Regions from separate parts of the Homo sapiens genome. Here region 1 is linked to region 2. Evidence: promoter capture Hi-C in 16 types of primary human blood cells and fetal thymus (Javierre and others, 2016). All regions are on one chromosome and are shown on one strand. Each heading gives the region's core, a stretch centred on a gene start or on the middle of the fragment in contact. The rest is flanking DNA. Distances are from core to core; before and after follow the strand shown. Region 1 holds the start of FAIM2 (Fas apoptotic inhibitory molecule 2). Region 2 holds the start of AQP5 (aquaporin 5).

The links. Contacts are between HindIII fragments. The CHiCAGO score rates a contact against its expected background, and 5 or more counts as called.
Region 1: a contact is called between the fragment with the promoter of FAIM2 here and the fragment with the promoter of AQP5 in region 2, in 7 of 17 cell types (M2 macrophages, M0 macrophages, endothelial precursors and 4 more). The highest score is 11.4, in M2 macrophages.

What each region holds. Positions count from the first base shown.
Region 1 is chr12:49,901,994-49,908,572 of GRCh38, reverse strand. FAIM2 (Fas apoptotic inhibitory molecule 2) reads left to right here and starts at 4,673. Exons shown (of 12, transcript NM_012306.4): 1 at 4,673-4,795. The coding sequence starts at 4,781. The HindIII fragment of the contact is 12,443 bases long and covers 2,197-6,579 here.
Region 2 is chr12:49,959,837-49,967,274 of GRCh38, reverse strand. It overlaps AQP5 (aquaporin 5), which reads right to left and starts at 5,403. Exons shown (of 4, transcript NM_001651.4): 1 at 4,895-5,403; 2 at 3,619-3,783; 3 at 3,100-3,183; 4 at 1,593-2,283. The coding sequence starts at 5,257. The coding sequence ends at 2,098. It overlaps AQP5-AS1 (AQP5 and AQP2 antisense RNA 2), which reads left to right and starts at 4,492. Exons shown (of 3, transcript NR_110591.1): 1 at 4,492-4,608. It overlaps LOC105369764 (a long non-coding RNA gene), which reads left to right. Exons shown (of 3, transcript XR_001749143.2): 2 at 1,470-1,592; 3 at 2,356-2,773. RefSeq lists enhancers at 1-249, 22-645. The HindIII fragment of the contact is 7,065 bases long and covers 2,027-7,438 here.

The DNA.
Region 1 (6,579 bases), core at 3,424-5,923, 58 kb after region 2:
GACTCCACCTCAAAAAAAAAAAAAAAAGAAAAAAAGAGAAAACAATGTAATAGCAAAAATTACTACAGAGGTTGGTCTTTCTTATCTTTTTTTTTTTTTTTTTTTTTTTTGAGGCTGAGTTTCACTCTTATTGCTCAGACTAGAGTGCAGCAGTGCAATCTTGGCTCACTGCAACCTCTGCCTCCCAGGTTCAAGCGATTCTCCTGCCTCAGCCTCCCGAGTAGCTGGGATTACAGGCATGTGCCACCACATCCAGCTAATTTTTTTTTATTTTTAGTAGAAACGGGGTTTCGCCATGTTGATCAGGCTGGTCTCGAACTCCTGACCTCAGGTGATCCATCCACCTTGGCTTCCCAAAGTGCTGGGATTACAAGCATGAGCCACTGCGCTTGGCCTGGTTGGTCTTTCTGAAGCATGACTTTAAACACGTCATTTCCATGTTCAATAAAACCTTGAGGCCAGGCACAGTGACTTACTCCTGTAATCCCAGCCTTTGGGAGAGCGAGGTAAAAGGATCGGTTGAGCCCAGGAGTTCGAGGCCAGCCTGGACAACATAGTGAGATCTTGTCTGTACAAAAAATAAAATTAACCAGGCATGGTGGTGCAGGCCTGTAGTCCCAGCTACTTGGGAGGGTAAGATGGGAAGATCGCTTGAGCCTGGGAGGTTGAGGCTGACGTGAGCCATGATTGTGCCACTGCATTCCAGCCTGGGCGATAGAGTGAGATTCTGTCTCAAAAATTAAATAAATAATAAAATAAAATAAAGCTTGAAACTCCCCATTACTTTCCCGCCTTGTACAAACAGAATAAAGCCTATCATGGGGTGGAGATTTGAGGATGTTACCCCAACAACCTCCCCAGCTCCCCTGGGGAGCCCCTTACTGTTTCTGACTCCCTTGAGGCACTATTCTCCCAGCCCTCAGCCACCCCAGCACTGCCTGTCCCCTCCTGCCCGGGGGTGAGTCTGAAGGGATCTCATTCTTCTTGAAGAATGGCTTCTACCAAATGTGTCAACAGGGACAGAGACCACAGACATGACAAATGAATGAACAAATGAGTAACTGTGGAACTGAGCTGCCTTATGTGGTGGAAATTATTTCATTAAACAATATTTGTGGAACCCTTAAGGCTAACACTAATAGCTAACACCAAGAGCTTATTGTGTGCTTATAGTCATCAAACATGCATAGAGCATGTGTTAGATGCCTGGTTCTGTTCTAAGTGCCTTACAAATCCTAACTCTCCTCATTCTCACAACTTTCACAACTCATCTCTCACAAGCTCTCATACAGCTTTTAAATAGAGGAGCCGGGATCTGGAGCAAAGCTGCTTGACTGTGTAGCCTTGGCTTTTGACTACCACACCTAACTATCACCAGATCCCAGAGGAATGTTACACGAATGTTTAATATTTGAGTAATGTCAGCTGGGCACGGTGGCTCATGCCTGTAATCCCAGCACTTTGGGCGGCTGAGGCGGGCAGATCACCTGAGGTCAGGAGTTCGAGACCAGCCTGGCCAACGTGGTGAAATTCTGTCTCTACCAAAAATAGGAAAAGTAGCCAGGCGTGGTGGTGTGCGCCTGTAGTCCCAGCTACTCAGGAAGCTGAGGCAGGAGAATCGCTTGAACCTGGGAGGCGGAGGTTGCAGTGAGCTGAGATCGTGCCACTGCACTCCAGCCTGGGCAACAAGAGCAAAACTACACCTCAAAACAAAAATTTTTTTGAGTAATATCCAAAGACCACCTCATGGGAACATATACCCTAGTTACTTGGGAGGCTGAGGCAGGAGGATGCTTGAGCCCAGAAATTCAGACTGTAACAAGCCATGATCATACCACTGCACTCCAGCTTAGGCAACACAGCGAGACCCTGTCTCAAAAAAAAGTTGGGGGGACATATACACAATGTCAAGGTAATAGAGTCCAACATCTGAGAAACATCATAGCACTGACAATGTCAACATGTCTGAGGAATATAAGGATTTTGTATAATGCTGTACTTTACTCAACCAAATACTTATCAACCCACCACATCCATGTCAGTCACTATTTTAACCCACAGGTGTAAAGCAATGACACAACACCCCCAAACTCCTCCTCTTCTGTAGCTGACGTTCTAATGGGAGAGAGAGAGAGAACAAAACAAAACAAAACAAAACATGTCAGAGGTGACAATTGACATAGAAAACATAAAGCTTAATCAGAAAAAAGGGACTGTCCAATTTGCTGGGTGGGGGTATGCGGGTGGCACTGCTACTTTGTATAAGATCAGGAAGACCACCCCTGAGATAATGTCTGAGCAGAGTAGTGAAGTTAGTGAGGGAGGGAGCCACGCAATGATCTGTAGAATTTCCAAACAAGACACAGCCAGTGCAAAGGGCCTCAGCTAAGCGCATGCTCAGCCCAGTCTAAGGAATGGCCAAGAGGCCTGTGTGGCTGGAGCAGAGTGAATGCGAGAGAAGGAACAGGAGTGATTCACAAACATGAAAGTGCTAAGGCTGATGAAAGTCAGGCTCTGCGTAGTGCCATGTCTGGGAAATATTACTAGCTACAATTGATGGAGTGCATTCCACACACCTGGCACTGCATTCAGTCCAGCTCACACCAAAACTGCTACAGGAGCTTAGAGTGTAACAGGGAGTCAGTCAAAGAAACTTCACAGCGCCACGTGACAGGCGTTACATCAGGGTGCTAGGGAACTACAGAAGAGGAGCATCTAACCCCAACTAGGGGGGGAAGGAGGCTTCCTGGAGGAGGTGGCATTCAAGCTGTCAAGCAGGAGAAGGAAAACACTTCCAGGATGCAGATGCAGAGAAGGAGGGAAGGCCAGAACCTGGACCAGCTGGTCAGAGCTCCAGGTGCAGTGCTGGGGACCAGGGCACAGCTTGCTGGAAGAAGAGCTCGGGTTTGTAGGGTTGAGAGAGCCTCTGGACACGGAGGCCCAGGCTTAAGTGTGTTTGTGCAAAATTGGTGGTTATGGAGTGGGGGACAAAGGGCAAAAAGGGGTGGGATAAAGACTTTGATAATTAGGCCAGGCACGGTGGCTCACACCTGTAATCCCAGCACTTTGGGAGGCTGAGGAGGGTGGATCACTTGAGGTCAGGAGTTGGAGACCAGCCTGGCCAACATGGTGAAACCCTGTCTCTACTAAAAATACAAAATTAGCCGGGCGTGGTGGTGCGCGCCTGTAATCCCAGCTACTCAGGAGGCTGAGGCAGGAGAATCACTTGAACCCGGAAGACAGAGGTTGCAGTGAGCCAAGATTGTGCCACTGCACTCCAGCCTGAGCAACAGAACAAGATTTTCTCTGTAAAAAAAAAAAAAAAAAAAAAAAAAAAGACTTTGATAATTTGTCTGCCTACCTGGGCCCTGCTTTCTCAGGGACTTTAGGTGGGTCCCTGGGCAGTGAGAGGGAAGCAGAAGGTAAGTGGCCACCCCCACCTGTCCCAGGTCTTAGTTTCTCGTCCCATCCTAGCAGGTTCAGATACTTCTTTTAGGCAGATTTGTGGGTGCTCGCTCTGGGGCAGCCCAGGACATTCTGGTAGGAGACTCCTCAGTTAATAATACCTCACATACTTCCAGCACTTCTTGGTCTTTTATGTGCTTTTACGGCCATAACCTGTGCGTCTGACAGTCAATCTAGGATGGACAGAGCTCTGTTCTAAGCCTCTTTTTCGTAGGAGCTGCAGCTCAGAGAGGTTAAGGGCCTTGCCAAGGCCACGCGGCCAGTGGGTGACTAAATTGGGACTTGATCCCAGCTCTTGAGATTGCAAACCCCATAGTGACACTGCAGCAGCTACAGAAAACGGGGCCTGATGATGGCTGGGTCCCAGTGACACGTCTGGGGAAGCGGGGAGAACGAGCTCTGGCATGGGAGGAATGGAAAAGGGGGGAAGATGGAGACGGGGTGATGGAAGCTAAGCGTGGAGGCAGGAAGAGAGCTCTGGCAGGGGTTGTAGAGGCTTTGAGACAGAACTAGCGGTGTCTCCAGAAAGACCCCGTGAAATGTCCCAGCAGGGCTGAAAGAAACAGAAGAGGTGTCCTCCCACCCCATGTCTCTGTGAACCAAGGCAGGGAGGGACCTACTGTGTGCATTTCACAGGCGAGAAAAAGGAGCAAGGATAGGTGGCTATTGGCTTGCCCCAGGCCCACAGGAGCGCAGGGCCCAGGGGCCCTGTTAGAAGCGGGCAGCACAGGCGAGACTTCCAGACCTTCCCCTCTACCAGGGATGATGAAATAGATGATGAGAGGGGAGGTGGAGATGGAGACAGAAATCAGGGCCGCATCCAAAGAGGGAGGAGGAAAAGGCAGAGGCGCAGCTGGAGCTGCAGAGAGGTGCAGAGACAGTGGAGATGAGGCCCTGATGCCCGGCTCTGGTTTCACGCGGGCAGCGTCAGCTGGTCGGTGTCACGGAGTTCCCGCGTCCTCCGCCCGCTCAGCCCCCGCGGACCCATCCACTGGGGTTGCTCCGCAGCGCGACTCTCTCTCATCCCGGGGGAGGGCTAAGGGCGGCGGTGGGGGGCGGGGTGGGGGGGAAGCGGCGGGAGGGGGCGGTGCGCCGCCGCCTTACCCCGGGCTCGCGAATCCGCAGCGTCCTCCGCAGCATCTTCCCAGGCCCGGCCCTCTCCTCCCCCCGCGCCGATGGTACGCGCCGGCTCGCCTGGCCCGGCTGCAGTGGATGTTGCTAGAACCCACGCGGAGGAAGGAAGAGACGCAGGCAGGCTGCGGTTACCCAAGCGGCCACCCGGGCCTCAGGGACCCCTTCCCCGAGAGACGGCACCATGACCCAGGGAAAGGTACCGGCATCTCCCCAGCCTGCACCATCCTCCATCCTCCGGCTCCCGGCTCCCTGTCATCCTCAGCAAGCCCTCTGGACCACGAAAGCATCCTCCCCTGGCCCTAGTTTGAAGGTCCTCCGTGGTCCTTGCTGAAGTCAGAGGACCGAAAGGCCGGTGTCAAGGAATGGACCGAGGCCTCTTCCTGCCCGCAGGCGCGCCTCTCCTCCCCTGTCACCCTGCCACCCCTGCTTTGGCATTACAGCATTACAAGGCTCCTCACAGATACCCAGGCCCCCCGTGAGGAGTCAGCCCGGGCGTCTGGTGTGACTGTATGTGTGTGCATGGGTATGTGTGTGCCAGGGTGAGCCCTGAGGGGCAGTGCCTATCGGGCAACCCCCTCTGGCCCAACCCTCCAGTCCCAAACCCAACCACTTTATGCTCATCTTTCCCACCCTCCACGGAAACAACCCCCACCCTACTCCCTGCCATTGTTCCACATCTGGGCGTCTTGGCTCCATCCCTGTGCTTGGGGCTTGCTATGACAACTCTGCATCAAGATGCTCTAATTGTTGTTTTGGTTTTGGCCAGGCATGGATGGGTCCGGATGAAGCATCTCTTCTCCAGTTTTAGGCCTGAATTGTAGGGGAGGGGCTGGGGCAGAGACTCGGCTGGCCTAGTAGGCTTATGTAACATCAATAGCCTGTGGAATTATACAACCACTAGGGCCTGGGGCTAAGGGGGAGGGTACTCGGGCCCTCTGTTTGGGTTGCTAAGGATTGGGCAGAGAAAACAGGGGAAGGACCTCCCCTACACTCCCCCTTCTTCTCTTTGAGAGGAGCTTCAGAGCCAATGACATCCTTCCCTGGACCCTCAGACCCTCCTCTCCCTGTATGCAAGCTCTTTGGGCCTCAAATGATGTCACTGGGTGATACCACCTCCCGCCATTGGTCACACCTCACTTGGGAGTGCCGTATGTGTGTCGGGGGCCTGGGCATTAGGGTCCAGGAGGCTCTGGGGGGCGGAGTGGCAGGGTGGAGGCTGAACTCGATTTAGGTGGACATGATCCTTCAGATCCGGGTGATGAGGGGGGCTGGGGAGTGGGAGGCAGTGGGAGGCCTGGGGAGTGTTCAGTTCCGTAAACATGGAGAACTCACCCCTTCTGCTGAGTCTCCTTCCACCTCCACCCTGCCTCCACCAGGCCCTTTAGTGGCGCTGTTCCCTTCCTGGTGTGAGGGGGACCTCTGCCTCCTCTGCCCCTTGTCCCCAGCTCACGCACAGGCTTGCTGGGGGATGGAGAAGACCGCTCCAGTTCAGTGGTCCTTGGGCCTGGATGGAACCAGAAGTCTTCTGGTGCGTGCCTGTCTCCAGGCTGCCTCAGCCAGATGCTCCCTGCAAAGAAGGAAGTCCGCAGTCTTCCTCAGTGGCCCTTTAGGTCTAACACAGTCTTCTGGGAACCAGACCTAAATCCCATTTTCTGAGAGCCGGGCTTTTTGTTGCTGTTTCAATTTCACACCACCCCCTCCACCCCAGTCTTTCCTTCTCTGGCTGCCTCATTCAGGCCTTCCCAGCTCAAATCCTCTCACCAAAGCTAAACATGTCCACGGGTGGGGGGCAGGGGACACATCTGAGTGTAAATGGACTCGCATTTCCAACCTGCCATGGGGACGTTTCCCTTTGAGCCTCAGTTTCCTCATCTGTTCAGTGACGGAAGAGACTCAACTGGATGTCTTCTGAGGCCCCTTCCACTGGGTCACTCTGTGAGTCTGTTCTGGTTTAGGGGAGAGGCTGAGATTCCTACAGGA
Region 2 (7,438 bases), core at 4,154-6,653:
AGGGGACTCAAGCATGAGGGACTCCCTGTGTCCTCCACTCCACCCCCATCTGGCTAGAGCCCAGACCCAGGACTTGTGGACGACGAGGCGCCACGCTGTGGATTCGGTGGACGACGTCGCCCTCTGCTGGCCAGAGCTGGCACTTGCAGCCCGGCTCCCCCAGCCCGGGGCAGGTTGGAAGAAGTGGGAAGGGACACGGTGGGTGGGGGGCTGCTCCTTCCCTGGGCTCCCGGGGTTCTCACACGCAATGCCACGTGGTGTTTACTGTAAGCCTATGGGGCGGACATGAGTGGCTGACCTCTCACTTGTAGATGCTTAGACTCTAAGTGTGGAGAAGGCTGGGGGGTCTGCCACTCCTCACCCCAGCCCCTGGGACTGCCTCTCGCTGGCCAAGAACTACAGCTTCCCCTACCCCTTCTCAGTCCGTCTCCTGGCCCCGCTGGACAGGCGCTCAGGTCCAGACACCCCCAGGAGGGCAGAAGCATGTGGCTGGGGCCTCAGACTAGGCAGGCACGTGTGGGTTTCTATTAACACGACTATACTGAGCACTCACTCCAAGGCGCCTGACCATTTGTACAAGCGTTTTACCTCCAGGCGTGGTCTCATTTTCTCCTCACGACAGCACATAGCACATGAGGTCGGGAAAAGTACCCCTGTTTTGCAGATAAGGTCCTTAAAGCTCAGAGAGCTTATGTTGCCCCAAGTTTCACGGCCAGATTGGAATGAGGGTAGTTACTGACTCCAGGCTGGGCTCACTGCGAAGCTGGGCTATGCGGAGCTGTTCACTGCATGACCCCCCGCCTTTTCCTCACAGAAAGCTGACTGGTCCCAGGCATCTCATGCCCTCATCTGGTCCCCACAACTATCTTGTGAGGAAAGTGATATTTTATCCCCATTTTACAGATGAAGAGAGGGAGGCTCTGAGAGTTTAAGGAGGTTACCTAAGGAGTGTCAGTGACAGTGGGACAAGAGCAGGCTAGGACAGAGCTCAGGCCCAGAGGAGAGGACGGTGGGGACACTGGTGGGCCAAGGCATGAGAAGCCCTGGAAAAGGGGGCTGGGCCACATGTGGCTTCTGGGGGGGTCGGGGGGCTGCTCCCTCTGGGCACAGGCTCCCAGCAGGACACCTTTTTGAAAGACCAAGGTGCAGAGAAACGAGCCCAGGGCTGTGATGGAACCTGGCTGGTCACCCCCTTGCCATCTCGAGGGGCTGCGGTTGGCTCACTCCTCCGCCCTGCCTGTCACACCCTGGTACTCCCCTCAAGTGCCAGCCAAGCCCTCCTCAAGTGGCAGGGACTTGATTGACATGGCTGAGGGGGAGGGGTGGAGGGTGACTGCAGTGAGGACCCCTCCTTCCTGGCCTCTAGCTCTATTTTGATATTCGGTCTTCTCTCAGTCTCTCCCTGCTCTGTTCCCATCTCTCTGATTCTCTGGGCCTCCCATGGTCACAGTCTCCCTTTCTTCCCACAGAGCACTTGTCCTGGGGTCCCCTGGTACCCTGTGGAGATCGTGGTGGAGGATGTGGGATGACAAAGAGGAGAGGCAATGGGCCAGAGTGTCTCAAGGCACTCTGAGGAGAGACAGAGGTGGAACGTGAGTATCAGTGATTTATTGGGTAGCCCCCACTCTAAACACCAGCAGCCCCACGCATGCATCCTCACCAGAAATAAATAAGGCGGCATTCAATGAACCAGTCTGTCTTCTTCCTAAGGAGCTCTGGGGAGGGTCTGCCTCTGCCCACCTAGGGGCTGGGATCCCTTCAGCTCTTGAGGAAGGGTTGGGGAAGGTGGGGGGTGCAGGCTGCAGGCCCGCCCTTTTCTGGCCTGGCCCTTGCAGCCTGTGAGCTTGGCACTGCATTCACAATCTCTGAGGTCTGTCCCAGAGAGACCTGTCCCCAGCAGACCCCAGCCCCTGGCCCCTACCCCAGGAGTCCCATCATGGGTTCCTTCTCCCCTCTCTAACTGTGCAGCCAGGGTGACCAGCTCCTCCTCCTCAGCCAAGAGGACCGGTTGTGCAAAAAGGAAGCTTGTGTTAGGTACTTTTTCTTCTTTTCCCCCTTGGCTCAGGGGCTGAGGGGCTGGCCCCTGCCTGACACTGGTCAGCGGGTGGTCAGCTCCATGGTCTTCTTCCGCTCTTCCCGCTGCTCCTCCCAGTCCTCGTCAGGCTCATACGTGCCTTTGATGATGGCCACACGCTCACTCAGGCTCAGGGAGTTGGGGAAGAGCAGGTAGAAGTAAAGGATGGCAGCCAGGACCGCCCCCACGATGGGCCCTACCCAGAAAACCTGGTGGAGACAGGGCAGGAGTCAGGGCGCTGAGCCCCAGACCTTGAAGACCACATGCCCCCCACCCCACAGAGGACAGACCCACGGACCCTGAGAGGAGACAGACATGCAGACTTCCAGACCTTCAGGGAGAAAGACTTCCTCCCACCTCGGGGACGAATATACTGACACACCACTCCCAGGGACAGAGACATGGACCACAGACACCTAGACCCTCAAAGAAGGCAAACAGATTCCCAGAGGGACAGGCTCCCTCCAACCACACCGGAAAGAGAAGCAAATAAACCTTCAGAGGGGACACGTGGGTCCTCAGAGAGACGGATGAACAGAGCGCGTGTCCCCTCCACGCAGGGATAGAAGCAGACCCTGGAGAGAGTGACCATGAGCTTCCAAAGGGGGGGCAGACAGACTGTCCACAGGGACAGACCCACAGGAAGACTCTCCCAACCCCCTCAACAGGGACAGATAAATAAAACATCAGAGAGGACCAGCACGCAGACACCGAGGGGGACGGACACCAAATCCTCAAGGGAATTGACACAGAGCCCCTCTGCACCTCCAGGTTCAGTAGAGCCTCTTCCATAAGCGGATAGATACTCAGACTCCCTGTCCCCAGCGGTTCAGGCCATACAAAGCCACCTCTGCCCCTCTAGCTGAATCCCATCCCCTACTGTGTCCCTTTCTCTGTCAGCCACCACTCCGTGGCCCACCCCCAAGCTCTAGACCCACAGAATCCAGGTCTGGTGAGCTCTGAGCTGCCACTGCTGGGTCTCCAGGCCCTCATCTCCAGGGAGCCAGGGGAAGGGACAGACTCACCCAGTGAGCGGGGCTGAACCGATTCATGACCACCGCAGGGCCAAAAGAGCGGGCTGGGTTCATGGAGCAGCCAGTGAAGTAGATCTGGATAGAGACAGGGCGGTGGAGAGAAAGGCAACATCCTGGTCCACTCCCACAGAATCTGGACTCTCTCAAGGTTACACTGCAGTCCAGGGGCTCAGCCAGGTCTCAAACTCAGGCTGGCAACCTCTCCCTCCAAGGATCCCAGCTGCTTGGTTAACCATGGACCCTTAACTACGCCCTCCTCTCTTCTCTGCTCTGAGGTTGGGTTTGATTCCTGTCCCATCCCACCTCCTACTTACTCCCATCTTTCCTCAGCCCAGAGGTTTTGGGGGGATCAATTCTGGGGCCCAGTAGGGCCAGAGTCCAGGAGCCCTAAATCCAGGCCTTAAACTCTGCTGGACTCATCCATCTGAAGTGGGCTCCGCTCCAGGGCTCCATTATTTGCCTTGAGTGCCTGCCCCACCCTCACCCCAGCCCAATGTCGGTACTGCTCACTCCGACAAGGTGGCCCAGGGTGACAGACAGGCCAATGGACAGGGCTGGGGAGCCCACAGGGCTGGTGCGGCGGGAGTCAGTGGAGGCGAAGATGCAGAGTGCCAGCTGGAAGGTCAGAATCAGCTCCACCACCATGGCCTGGCCCTGCGTTGTGTTGTTGTTGAGCTGCAAGGGGATAGCGGGTTAGGACCCCGGCCACCTTCTGGCTGTATAGCCAGGGGCTCGGGGAGTAGGGCTTTTGGCCTCCAGGGACACTTAGAGCACCTTGGCACCTGGAAGCCAAGTCCTGTGGACATCGCCCCAGCGAAGCCATTTGTTAAAGACACTGTACATTTCATAGTTTGCACAGGCTTGAAGCTCAGGCCTGTGGCCAAAGGGCAGAGCGTCAGGGTAGCTTTTCCTGGACACGGGCCTATCAATGGCTCTGCCCAACCCCCAGCCCCCATAAGCTGGCATTTACCCTCCATCCTGTGGGCAGCTGCCCGGTTTGCCTGCCTCACACCCCATCCCGGCCTCCTGCCCGTGCCTGGCCCCATGCCAGTGCCAGCCTTAAACCCGTCTCTCCAGTGCGGCTGACTCACAGCTTGACAATGGCCAAGCAAATCCTCCTCTGTGTTTGATTAATGAACCCAGTTTGCATGGGGTTGGGGGCTGACTCTGGGGCTGCAGGAGGTGGGAGGGAGGCAGGGGTGCGGGGTTGAGGGGAGGAGCACAGGTTGGGGAAAGAGGGAACCAATACTCAACAGAAACTGCTCTGCACTGGCCCCACATTAGGGGGTTCCTATCTACGGTTTCTAAATGTGAGCCCCTTGACACCTGCTGTGGCAGACACAACCATCCCCATGGAGGCGCTGAGAACAATGAAGCACAGACAGGCCAGGGTCACCCAAAGCCGTGATGACAGCCCGCTTTTCTCTGGTGGTTCTACTCAACCGCTCCACTGAGGTGATGGGAGAGGTGAGGGGCCCAGGAGGAAGGTGGAGCTCAAAGGTGAGACAGGAGGAGGCAGAAGTTTCTGGCAGGAGAGGAGGGGTAGCAGGCATTGGAGAGAGACCAGGGTGGGCCAGCATGAGGGGAGGGGGAGAGGAGGTGGGCAGGAAGGGAGCACATATCAGCCTGGAGAGTTGCCTTCCTGGCCTTGGGAGGCTCTTGCCTTCCTGGTGAAGGGTGTGGGCTGGCCCACTCTGCGGCACCCCTTTTTTCCAGGTGGGGTAAGAGGCCTGGTCCTGAGCCCACCCCAGGGTCGAGGCTCCCACCCCCCCCCCAGGGCACTCACCGCGTTGACGGCCAGATTGCCCCGGGCATTGAGCGGTGCCACACCGTAGAGGATGCCAGCCCCGGCAATGGCGCCCACCAGCTGGGCCGCCACGTAGAAGAAAGCCCGGAGCAGCGAGATCTGGTTGCCCACCAAGAGGGCCAGGGTGATGGCGGGGTTGATGTGGCCGCCGCTCACGGGTCCCAGGGCCTGGGCCAGCGTGCCTATGGCCAGGCCAAACGCCAGCGCGATCTGCAGGATGGTAGGCAGCGCCGACGGCCACTTGAGGGCCGAGCCCAGGCCAAAGAAGACGAAGATGAGGGTGGCCAAGAACTCTGCGAACACGGCCTTGAGGAAGGCCACGGAGCACACCTCCTTCTTCATGGTGGCCGCGGGGGCCCGGCGGCAGCTGCCGCGGCGGGGGGCGCCCGTTGGGTCGCAGGCGGCGGAGGAGGTGGATGCGGCGGGGGCGGGGGCCTGGCTGCGGGGCGCCGCGCACTGTCCCGCGCCCACTCCGAGGCTGGCGGCCTGGCGCGGGCCCTGCTGGGGCGCGCTATATAGGGGGCGGGCGGCCGGGCGCGGGGCCGGCGCGGGGGGGCAGGGGGCGGCTCCTACGCTCGGGGGCCAGCGCGGCGCGCGGGTTGGGAGGCTCCAGGCCGCTGCGGGCCCGCCGCTCTCCGTCGTCCAGCGCAACCCCGGCGCGACCCCCGCCCCCCGGCCGGGGCAGCCGCCGGCCCGTCCGGGCCACGTGACCCAGGCGGCGGTGTAGACCGGCCCAGCGTCCCGGGCCCTGCGCATGATGCGCCCAGGTTGGCTCCCGCGCTCTCCTCGGTGCCGTGCGCCCCGGACTCCCTGGGAGACGGGGCTCGGTCCCGGCGCTTCACTCCGACCTCGGGGCGTCTAGCTCCGCCGGCCTTTACCGCGCTCCGTGCGCGGCCTTCCCCTTTTCTTCTCTTCGGGCTTTTGGTCCAGCTCCTCCTTTTCCTCCTGCGACCGGAGCATCCTGACCCGCCTCACCCCCGGCTGGGTCGGAGTGATGCTCGTCCCGCAGGTCGGCGCCGCTCACCTCCCTCACCGCCGGCGGCGGGGGCGGGCGGCCGGGCTGGGTCCTGCAGGGCGGTCCGGCCGTCCGACGTGGGCCGCTCCCGGCCTGGGCCGGGCGAGCTTCTGGGCTTGGAAGGCTGGCGTTTTGGGAAAAGTGGGCACCGTGCCAGCCTGCCCCGACGCTTCGCAATCCTCGACGCCCGGTAGCTGGGCAGTACCTGGACTAGGCAACGGATCCCCGGAGGCGCCCTCTCCCAGGCCGGGGTTCCCCTTGTCGACGGGACGGGACGGGGGTGTGACGTGAGGCCTTGAGACTCTGGGAGTTGGAGTGGGGGAGCAGGGGGGGTAGAGACGCACCACTGACCTCCCAAGCGCGGTCTTGGCGTCTTCCCTCTTCCTGCTAGAAGCCCCTCACCCTGGATCTAAGACTCTCCTTCTCTTCCTCCACCTCCCCTAAGTCTCCTTCAAACCCTCACTTGGTCTTGATCTCTCTCCCCTCGAAATCTGTTTCTGTCAGTCAGTCTTTGCAAAACCCTATTTCTCTTTTTGTCTCTGTCTTTGGTCTCTGACCCTCTCCCTCTGCCAGCCTCTTCCTCTCGGTCTCTCTCCGAGAGGTCTCTTTCTCATTTCAGTCTCTCTGTTCTCCACCTCTCCATCTCTCTCTCTCTCACACCTTCTCATTTTCTGTTTTTCCTTCCTGCCTTTTGCTGTCTTAGTCTCTCTGTCTCTCTCTATTCATTTCTCTCATCCTGCAGTTTCTGTCTCCTGGCTATTTTCACCTTTCCTCTGCCTCTTAATTTTTGTGCCTTTCTTTGTTTCTGTCTGTTTCTACCTCATTTTCCATGTCTCTCTCTCTTACATGTGGTCTTTCTCAGTCTCCCCAAAGTCAAGTTCTTCTACCCCTGGTCTGGGTGACACTTTCTTCCAGTTCCCATCCCCCTTCCCTCTGAGCTTGTAACCCCTTTGTGACCTGCTGCCTCCTCGCACACCACCCTCTCCCTCTTCCCACCCACTCCAGGTCGGGCATGTGGAGAACGAGGCTGGAGGGCTCTCTAGGGCTTAGAGGGGGAGGACCCACCCCCAGGATCCCGGGAGAGGAGCTGCATTAAAGACTCCCATCCCCATGTGTGTTAGAGAAGCCCTTAGCACAGTGCCTGGCACAGAGTAAGGCTCAGTAAAGTCTCCTTACGTTGTGACTGTTAATTTTAAAAGCCCCTTGAGGGTTTAGTGTGGTGCTAAGCTAGGGGGAAGAGTCCAGCGGGAGGGTGCAGAGGAAGTAGAGAACAGGTGCCTCCTCTGTCAGTTTGTCAGGCAGGGCTGAGGGGAGGAGCCTGCAGGAATGCTAAGGACTTGGAGGAGCGGGCTCTGGGCTCTGTGGCAGCTAAGATGCCAAAGAAAACAAGGGCTAAAGAAACCCCGCTATTGTTCCTGCCCAGCTCTGGCATTTCCTGCTGGAGCAGCTCCTCCCCCAGGTCTCTCCTCTTAAGGCCGGAGGTCAGTCTGTCCTTTCTTCCATGGGTC